2 separate regions of the Homo sapiens genome follow, and region 2 is linked to region 1. The links are contacts of gene promoters, found by promoter capture Hi-C in human tissues and cell types (Jung and others, 2019). All regions are on one chromosome and are shown on one strand. The core of a region is centred on a gene start or on the middle of the fragment in contact, and the rest is flanking DNA. Distances in the headings are between cores, read along the strand shown. Region 1 holds the start of MAPK1 (mitogen-activated protein kinase 1). Region 2 has its middle 50 kb from the start of TOP3B.

Evidence for each region. Contacts are between HindIII fragments. The study calls those that stand out against the background at their distance.
Region 2: a fragment that was not itself captured here is called in contact with the fragment with the promoter of MAPK1 in region 1 in 1 of the 25 tissues and cell types used here (lymphoblastoid cells).

What each region holds. Positions count from the first base shown.
Region 1 is chr22:21,866,395-21,871,333 of GRCh38, reverse strand. MAPK1 (mitogen-activated protein kinase 1) reads left to right here and starts at 3,689. Exons shown (of 9, transcript NM_002745.5): 1 at 3,689-4,012. The coding sequence starts at 3,894. RefSeq lists a silencer at 3,519-3,758. The HindIII fragment of the contact is 55,514 bases long and covers 1-4,939 here.
Region 2 is chr22:22,029,948-22,034,886 of GRCh38, reverse strand. It overlaps the pseudogene PRAMENP, IGL, IGLV4-69 and the pseudogene IGLVI-68. Among named protein-coding and RNA genes, the nearest start is that of TOP3B, 50 kb to the right of the region's middle. RefSeq lists a silencer at 3,363-3,482 and enhancers at 3,553-3,612, 3,753-3,832, 3,130-3,909, 4,273-4,532, 3,910-4,690. The HindIII fragment of the contact is 9,029 bases long and covers 1-4,939 here.

The sequences.
Region 1 (4,939 bases), core at 2,440-4,939:
TGGAGTCTCGTTCTTGCCACCATCTATGAATCTATGAAGGGTCGAAACCTACCCCTTCAAAGTGTTGTCAATCTTGTTCTATTTTCCTTTGGCTTTTAAGTGTTGCAGAGGAAAAATCTGAATAAAGCCAGTTTTTAGCTTTTTTTTTTTTTAAATGGAGTCTCGTTCTTATCACCCAGACTGGAGTGCAATGGTGCAATCTCGGCTCACTGCAACCTATGCCTTCCGGGTTCAAGCGATTCTCCTGCCTTAGCCTCCCAAGTAGCTAGGATTACAGGTGCCAGCCATCATGCTCGGCTAATTTTTGTATTTTCAGTAGAGACAAGGTTTTACCACGTTGGCCAGGCTGGTCTCGAACTCCTGACCTCAGGTGATCCACCCGCCTCAGCCTCCCAAAGTGCTGGGATTACAGGTGTGAGCCACCTCGCCCAGCCATCTTTTTTTCCCCCGGAGACGGAATCTCACTCTGTTGCCCAGACTGGAGTGCAGTGGCACGATCTCGGCTCACTGCAACCTCCACCTCCTGGATTCAAGCAATTCTCCTGCCTCAGCCTCCCAAGAAGCTGGAATTACAGGCACACACCACCACACCCAGCTAATTTTTGTATTTTTAGAAGAGATGGGGTTTCGCCATGTTGGCCAGGCTGGTCTAGAACTCCTGACCTCATGATCCGCCCGCCTCGGCCTCCCAAAGTGCTGGGATTACAGGCACGAGCCACCGTGCCTGCTGGCCAGCTTTTTTATAAATAACATTTTTTTCCCTAATTGGGTCTATTAGTGTCTGTTCTTTATCCCTGAAACTTAATGATTTTCCCAGATTATGTGTTGTTGGTTTCTTCTTAATTTTTCTCAATCTCAGTGAACCCACTCTATTTCCCACCTCCACCTCAGACCTTTTTGCAACCTAAGGAAACTTTTCTCCTATTGTAATTTTGATTATTCGCTCTAACCGATTTGCTCTGTCTTCCTGTGGGGATGCCTAGAGTTAGAATCCCTAGATGCTGTCCATCCCCATTATCTTCTCTTACAGGATTCCATCACTTTGTTCTATATTCTTGAAAATTTTCTCATGTTTATCTTCTATATTGCTGATGTACTCTTCTGCATCAAGTCTACTTTTTTTTTTTTTTTTTTTGAGACGGAGTCTTGCTCTGTCACCCAGGTTGGAGTGCAGTGGCGTGACCTCGGCTCACTGCAAGCTCCGCCTCCCGGGTTGACGCCATTCTCCTGTCTCAGCCTCCGGAGTAGGTGGGACTACAGGCACTCGCCACCACGCCCGGCTAATTTTTTTTTTTTTTTTTTTTGTATTTTTAGTAGAGACGAGGTTTCACCATGTTAGCCAGGATGGTCTCGATCTCCTGACCTTGTGATCCGCCCATCTCGGCCTCCCAAAGTGCTGGGATTACAAGCGTGAGCCACCGCACCCGGCCTCTTTTTTTTTTTTTTTTTTGAGACGGAGTCTCACTCTGTGGCCCAGGCTGGAGTGCAGTGGCGCGATCTCAGCTCACTGTAACCTCTGCCTCCCGAGTTCAAGCAATTCTCCTGCCTCAGCCTCCCGAGTAGCTGGGACTACAGGCACACCGGCAGGCCCAGCTAATTTTTTGTATCTTAGTAGAGACGGGGTTTCACCATGTTGCCCAGGCTGGTCCCCAGTTTCTGAGCTTGGGCAATCTGCCCTCCTCCGCCTCCCAAAGTGCTGGGATTACAGGCGTGAGCCACCGCGCCCGGCCGGTTATTGTGGTTTTAATTTCATGGTACTCCATTTATCTTGGCCTGTTTTTTAAAAAAATATGCAATGTCCTCTTTTGAGAATAAGAATTAGGTATTTTCTTTTTATTATTATTATTATACTTTAAGTTTTAGGGTACATGTGCACAATGTGCTGGTTAGTTACATATGTATACATGTGCCATGCTGGTGTGCTGCACCCATTAACTCAAGAATTAGGTATTTTCTAAAATTGGGTCCTGCTTCATGGGCTAAATATATTTTGAAGGAGTAAATTTTGGCTGGAGCAGTTTATTCCTTTTCTCATGTGTCACATCCTTTTTCCCCCACAGGATTTTTTGTTTGTTTGTTTCTCTGTTTTAGAGACAGGGTATTGCTGTGTTGCCCAGGCTAGTCTTGAATTCTTGGGCCCAAGTTGGGATTACAGGCGTGAGCCACCACACCAGCTTCCACCAGAGAGTTAAACAAACAAACAAACAAAAAACTTTGTTTATTCTCCTTTGAGATTGACTAATTAATCTTTGTTGATGTCTAGAAGTCAAGAGTTGATGGTTTTAAACTTGGAAGAGTTGAACAAAGAGGATATAGGGTCTGCCGCTCTTCCTTCTCCCTCCAAACATGGCAGGGGAAAAGGTTCAGAAGCAGTGCCTGGGTCATTGTCCGTCTCGTTGTCTTAGCTTTCCTTGGTATCCACCTGCTTCAGGACTCTAATTTTTATTTTTTCAACCTCTGTTGTTTGTGACTGTTTCTTAACCTGGTGTGTCTCTTTTTCTCTAAACCTCGATGTTTTGGTTTTAGTGACTCTATCTTTGCATTTCTATTTCATTACCTGCTCTGTCAGCATTTCTGCCTATCTGTACCAATCTCGGTCTGTCTCTGAACGCAAATGTATCTCTCATGTGTTTCGACCCACCACCCCCTAATCCCTTACTCTCTGCTTTGTCCTCCTGCCTCAGCCTCCCAAGTAGCTGGGATGACAGGCGCCCACCACTGCGCCCGGCTAATTTTTGTATTTTTAGTAGAGACAGGGTTTCGCCATGTTGGCCAGGCTGGTCTTGAACTCCTGACCTCGTGATCCGCCCGCCTCGGCCTCCCAAAGTGCTAGGATTACAGGCGTGAGCCACCTCGCCCGGACTTAATTTTTGTATTTTTAGTAGAGACCTGGTCTCAAACTCCTGACCTCAAGTGATCCGCCCGCCTCGGCCTCCCAAAGTGCTGGGATGATAGGCGTGAGACACCGCGCCCTCCCTTCTGCTTTGTACTTCTTCATCGTACTTATCACAACTTGAGCATTACACGTATTTGTCTGTCTCCTCTCTCTAAAAGGTAACTTCTATAAGGGTGGATCCCCAGGAACATGGAGTGTGCTCAACAAACATCTGAACTAACCTGATTGGCGTATCCTCTCAGTGTCTCCTTTTAGTCTCGACAATTGTGTTTCACACTTTCTCAGTATGCAAATATCTTTCTCGGTCTGGGTCATGCCTTTCGGTTTCTGCCCCAGTGCAGAGGCCTCTAAGTTTATCAGCGTGTGGACCACAGATTCGCAGAGGCCTGAGCTGCGGCGCTGCCGGGATATGGCGCGTCGTCGGGCCTCAAGCACAGCCCGGGGTCCCTCGCTGGCTCTGTTCGGACCCTGCTCGGTCGCTCGCCTGGGCCCCAGCCATCTCTCACTTCAGCCCATGAGTTCTGCCCCACGTCTGTCTCCCTGGGTGTCTTAAGAGACGCGACCCGCACCGACGCCCCCGCGAATGCACCGCGAATGCACGTGACCGCGCCTAGTGGCGCCCCCTCAGTCAACGCCGTCGCAGTGCCCCTCCCGAAGCCCGCCGCTTCCGCCGGCCCGCGCGGCCCCGCCCCCAGCCGCGAGGAACCAATCCGCATGCACACTTCTTGTCCCCGCCCCGGCACCCTCCTCGGCGCGCGCCCCTCCCTCCGCCCGCCCGCCGGCCCGCCCGTCAGTCTGGCAGGCAGGCAGGCAATCGGTCCGAGTGGCTGTCGGCTCTTCAGCTCTCCCGCTCGGCGTCTTCCTTCCTCCTCCCGGTCAGCGTCGGCGGCTGCACCGGCGGCGGCGCAGTCCCTGCGGGAGGGGCGACAAGAGCTGAGCGGCGGCCGCCGAGCGTCGAGCTCAGCGCGGCGGAGGCGGCGGCGGCCCGGCAGCCAACATGGCGGCGGCGGCGGCGGCGGGCGCGGGCCCGGAGATGGTCCGCGGGCAGGTGTTCGACGTGGGGCCGCGCTACACCAACCTCTCGTACATCGGCGAGGGCGCCTACGGCATGGTGTGGTGAGTGTCCGCGACCGGCCACGCCCGGCCCCCCCACCGCCCGGGGCCGCAGCGGACGCAGCCTCGGCCTCGCCCGCGCCTCGGCCTCAGGCGCCGCGGCGACCTCGAACCCGGACTTCACCGCGGTCCGCGCGCCAGGGCTCGGGCGCGGCCCCGGGCCGGTTGAGGTTTAGGTGTTGTTGCTCGCGGTTCCCGGGCCTTCGGTCGCTCGGGAAGGGGCTCAGGGAGTGGCGCGGGGGGCGTAGGCCGGTACTAGTGGACCCTTGGCCCCGGGCGCAGCGCGGCCTTTAAAGTCTGGACCCTCGGGAAGGCAACGGAAGGGTCCCCACCCCTCAATTTGCTAGTATCATGGCCTTCTTTTGGACTTTCGATTGTAAAACTGTGAATTCCATCAGATGCTTGTCGGTGTTGGCGGCGGTGGCTGCTGAGGTCCTGAAAGCGTTTTGCCTCCGCGTGTGTGCAGAACACCGAAATAATCGTTTTTCTCTCTTCGCCTCTGTTTGCAGCCAACGGCTTTCATTAAATATCCTCAGCGGTGCTAATGGTGGTCTCCGCGCAGGCTTTCTAAAATGGATTACTGACGCCAGTGTTGGTGGCATATTTCCGTCTTGAAGTTTTTACTTCTAAGTGGATTTTAATATCGTACTGCTGGCGTTTCAGGAAGGATAAACTAACATTACTCTCTTGATTTGTTAAAGATCCGTTTAGAGTTGGGCCTAATTTGACTTTTTTTTTAGCCCCCAAGTGAGCTCTTTTACCAGCATAAATGCTCCCAGATGTTTTAGCCCAATTGCTATGGACTCCTGTTAATGATTTAGTGGTCATTATGTATGCAGCCTTAATGGAGTTCTTGCAGAATCACACGTAGACTCCCTCATCTTGATTCAGGTCCCTTAGAAAAGTGAAATGATAGTGACGGTTTTTTTT
Region 2 (4,939 bases), core at 1,650-4,149, 160 kb before region 1:
GACCCTCAGGCTGCTTCTCACCTGAGGGAGGGACAGGTGCACAGGTGGTGGGCAGTGGCCACTCCTGTGGCTTCCTGGCCTCCTTGCCTTTCTTACCCACTCTGGGACAAGGAGGCCATCATGGGGATGTGTATCTGCTTCCTCCCTCTCCTGAGACTACCTGTATCTCAGGTCAGTGCCTGCATGGCAATAGTGTGTCTGTCTAAAATTGGTCTGTGGGAAGAATGTCAGCAACATCAGGGAGCTTGAGCTGTAACTTTGTGAGCCAGAAATCGCCTGGCTTGTGATCCTGTCCAGGTCCCAGCATCTACAGGACAAAACCCAACATGAACTAAGGATGGGAGTGGATGACAGAGTGATGCACATTGTGGGATCACGTAGGCAAACCTCCTTTTTTTCCTGTTGTCTGGACCCAAAGTCTCCCAGCCATGAGATGAGCATGTGACTGACCCCAGCTGCAACTACAGGCATCTGCATTCTGCTGTCCAAACCGATCAGACAACCCACTGGTCAACATGATGGTGTCAGGGGAGATGGTGTGAGTGATCTGATCTAGTATTCTCAAAGGCAAAAATTCCTGGTGGGTTGGTCAGAGTGCATTCCCTCATTCTGGAGCATTTGTGTGTGAATGTGATACCTGAGACTGAGCAGTATCTTGTTTGCGCATGGGAATTTAGCCTAGGGACAGGACAGGACATGGAGAAGAGACATCTCAAATAAAACTCATAGTGGGATTCCCCCCTTGCCATTTGGAGAGAAAAGCGTCCTGTGACAACTTTGAAAGAGGCTGGGAGGCTGTTGTCTGAGTTTCCATCATGGTGATTAGCTCAGGGCCTCCCCCAGCCTCATTGCTCATGGAGGCCCCCTCAGCAGGGGTTTCGCATCCACTCCCTCCACTTTCCAAGGCTATTCCTGAGCCCTCTCTCCTCACCCAGGCTTCAGTCCCTCCTCTTACAAACACAGGCTAGACCTGACCTTTCTCTCCAATGACCCCAACTGGCCCCGTGGCCTTCATGCTTGCTGTCTCCTTGTTCATCTTCTTTGAGGCATCTGGACTTTTCTTCATAAACTTGAGTCAGATCCTGTGTCTTCCTTGCCCAACCTTCTGATGGCTCCTCTACCCCCAACTGAGCTCTCCTCACTGTGTGATGACATCATATTGTCGCATTGACATTTTTACTTGATTGCCTTATCTGTTCCACCACTCAGTGTCAGCTCCATGAGGACAGGGCCCCTTCCTCTCTTGTTCATCATGTACCTTGAATCCCTGGATCTGAGGCTGGTGCATAGTAGCTTCTCAGTGAATGAGGTGGATAAACAGACCTTTGGGAGTCGACTATCCTGAGTCAGACACAATGACCCTGGTCCTGTTTTGACCCATTATGGATTTGGTTTCCAGGACAGCCTGATCTTGGTATTGAGGGATTTCTCTTAATATGAGACAATACGACAATTTGTTACTGCCAAGGGTTGGGTGTGAGGGTAGAATTGAGAGGACAGAAACACATTCTCCACACTGCGTTCACTGGAGTGAGTTTTAAAATCTAAATTTTTACTAAACAAATGAAAAGCAACGTTAATCAGCTGACTTGCCCAAGAAGTGGGGGCTGCACAGAGAAGCTCCATTGCTGGATGGGCAGCAGCTTTTTCTCCCACTTCCCCACTGGCCTGAAGTACTGCCTGAGCCTTGGTGCTTGTGTCCCAAGCTGAGAATAAAAATCAGCCTTTTCCTCTGCCTGGAGTCCAGAGATGCTCAGAGAGGCCATGTTCTCCAACCTGGAGCCTCAGCATTGGGCCTATGCCCCTAAGGGTCAATGACTGCTTTTATATATGTGGAGCTCTGGGTCTCTCGGAGGCATGTTTGTACCAGAGCACATGCCCGTGCCCAACATTGCTGCTGCTTCTAGTGCAGGAGCTGGTACCCACCTGCCCCACAGATGCATGCACTGCAGGTGGCTGGGTCAGCACAGGCTGGGCTCAGGACGCTGGACATTAAGACAGACACAGGGTGAGAGGTGGGTCAGTGGACAGAGACACATGCATAAACCTTGGTCTTTTGATCACCAGCCCTGACACTGAGCCCTAGCCACCTGTGCAGTGAAGGAGAAGGCGGGGGAGAGACCACAGTGGAGACCCATACATAGCTCTACATCCTGAGGATCATCAACTGAGCCTGGGCTCTCCAAGTCCCTTGTACTCCCTCCAGCAGCTCAGGGTGAGGAGGGCATCCTTCATACCAACCAGCCTCCTCCCCTGGGCTGTCCAAGCCCTTTCCTGGGCCATGACTTCGATCCCTCCCTGAAAAGCTGACACATGAAGAGGATGGTCTTGGTTGATGCTGTTCTGTGGCTCCCTGGGGGCCTATAAGGAAACAGCTGCTGGTCTTGTGAGCAGGGGGTAGAGGGCTCCAGCCCAGGGTCAGGGAGTGGCTCTCGTATGGGGTCTCCAGCACAAGATTTAGGGACAGACCACAGAACAGCCTACTGCTTGAGGTCCAGATGCACCCATGTATCCTGTCTCCTCCACTGTTCACTTTGTCATCCCCAAGAAGGATGGAGATGGGCAGTGTTTAGGCCATAACACACCTTAGTCTCACATCTCCACAGACCCTCCTTCCTGGATATACTTGCTTAGCTCACTGTGAGGTTTATAGGGCAGTTCTGGGAGGCTGGACTCCCTGAGGAGCCTCCACTAGGGGACATCAGAGCAGGAAGCCCAATGGGGACAGGGCTCCCTCCAGGACACAGGGAGCTGCTCCCTCTTTCTTCTCCCTGGGCTGTCTAGAGCCTGCACCCAGACTGCCTTGCTTCTCTCTGGGCCTATTTCTTCTTCTCAGCCCCTCAAGAAATTTGATTGCAGAAAAGGAAAAGATTAAAAAATAAATTTAAAAATATTTGCCAGCACCAGGCATAAATTCTAGGGCAATATGACACCAAGTGCAATTTTGAGAGGAGAGAGGGGAGCCCTAGGTAGGCTTCTGATTCCTAATTATCCTTCCTTATTTGGGCACTAAGAGGCAAATAACATCTTTCAAAGGGCAGGGTCAGCACTCTCTAAATCTGTCCTGAGTACATGGAATGATGACTCTTTCAGGATTTGGAAACAATTTCTAAGGCTCATTTTTCTTCTGTCAAGAGAAAATGGTTAGCTCCACAGGCACTGAATTCAGCATATTTGGAAAATTAGGTAATATTTCATAGTCATCATGATATTTTTGTTTCTGTTTTTAGTTTTCCTGAGACTTCAGAAAACTTGAATGAGAAATTGAGAGTAGAAACATTTTAAACCAGACGGTGCTTCCAAGTGGAGTGTGTACATATAAAACATATTTGAAAATTTAAAACTTGTCATATAACAAGACCCTGAGCAGGCTGAGGTTTCTGTCCCACTTCCTCATCTGCCTGTGTCACTGTGTGAATGCCAGTGCCCCAGGTCTGACAGTAATAGTCAGCCTCATCCTCAGACTGGAGGCTGGAGATGGTGAGGTAGCGCTCAGCCCCAGAGCTGGAGCCTGAGAAGCGATCAGGGATCCCGTCCCCCTTGCTGTGGCTGCCATCACTGTTAAGCTTCATCAAGTACCGAGGGCCCTTCTCTGGCTGCTGCTGATGCCATGCGATGGCGTAGCTGCTGTGCCCACTGCTCAGAGTGCAGGTGAGCTTGACCGAGGCTCCCAGGGAGGCAGAGGCAGAGGGCGATTGAGTCAGCACAAGCTGGGAGAGAGACCCTGAAAACACAGACACCCATTACCGGCTGGAGTCAAGAAAAGAGGGAAGGACATTCCTGGCATAAGTTTGGGAGGTGGTATCAGTGAGCTGGAGGTCAGGGTGCTGAGGGCCATCCTGACCTGTGCAGTGGAGGAGGAGGGTGAGGAAGAGGAGTGGGGTCCAAGCCATGGTGCAGACTCCCCAGAGCTCTGCTGAGGCTGACAGTTGCAGGTATTTCTTACCCACCCTGTAGTCCCAGAGGAGAGAGAGGGGCCCTTCATGCAAATGTGCTCCTCTTCCTCTGCCCAACCAAATCACTCCGTGTGCCTGAGTGTCAGTCCCAGTGGTGGGGTGACATTTCTGGGAGGGGTTACCTGGGCTGGGCCTGGCCTGAGGCTCTCCAAGGGTGCAGAGAGAGCCCAGCTGCTGGCCCCAGTGAACCCTGCGTGGAGACCAAGTTCAAGTGTTTGGTTTCCCAGCTGAGAAACCCACAGAGCCCTCAGCAGCAGACCAACAGCACCCCCTTCTGCCTAGGCCCAGGTCCATCGTGTCTGTGACCAGATGCCAGTGGGTCCTGACAGAGGCTTCTGCCCGGACCAGGGCCTTGACCACGGCCTGTTCTCTGTCCAAGGGCAAAGTGGGACCCCTCGTCAGGGCAGCCTCCTATTTTATTTCAGACTTTAGTTTTCCATTTAGCCCTTTTCAGTGGGAGCGGGACACATGATCCACCCCACTTTGCAAAAGTCCTCAGGAGAAAGGTGTCTCTCATACACGTTCTATTTGGTAGGTGTAATGGGATAATTTACATTGACTGGAACAGAATGTCTCCATTCTGCAGTAATGGAGATGTTGTGAGAATGGATCGGACTGTTGGCTACATGAGCATCTGCATTTGTAAAAACCATCAAACTGTATAATTAAGACCTGTGAATTTTACTTTATATAAGTTATCTTTCTATATAATAAACAGAAAAAATAGGAGAAAATGGCTACTTTTCAGACAAAACCCGATGGAATTTGCCACCAGCAGAACTGCTCTACAGGAAATTCTAAAACTGTTTTTCAGTGAGATGAAAAATAATCTCAGTTAGTAGCTCCCCAAATTAGAAATAAATATTTTAAAAAGTAGAGAAAAGAGGGTAAACTCAAAGGAAAACTGAGTACATAAAACAATGATTTTTACATCAGTTGGTGTTACATGCATGTATGTGTAAACGTAATGGTGCATGTGTATG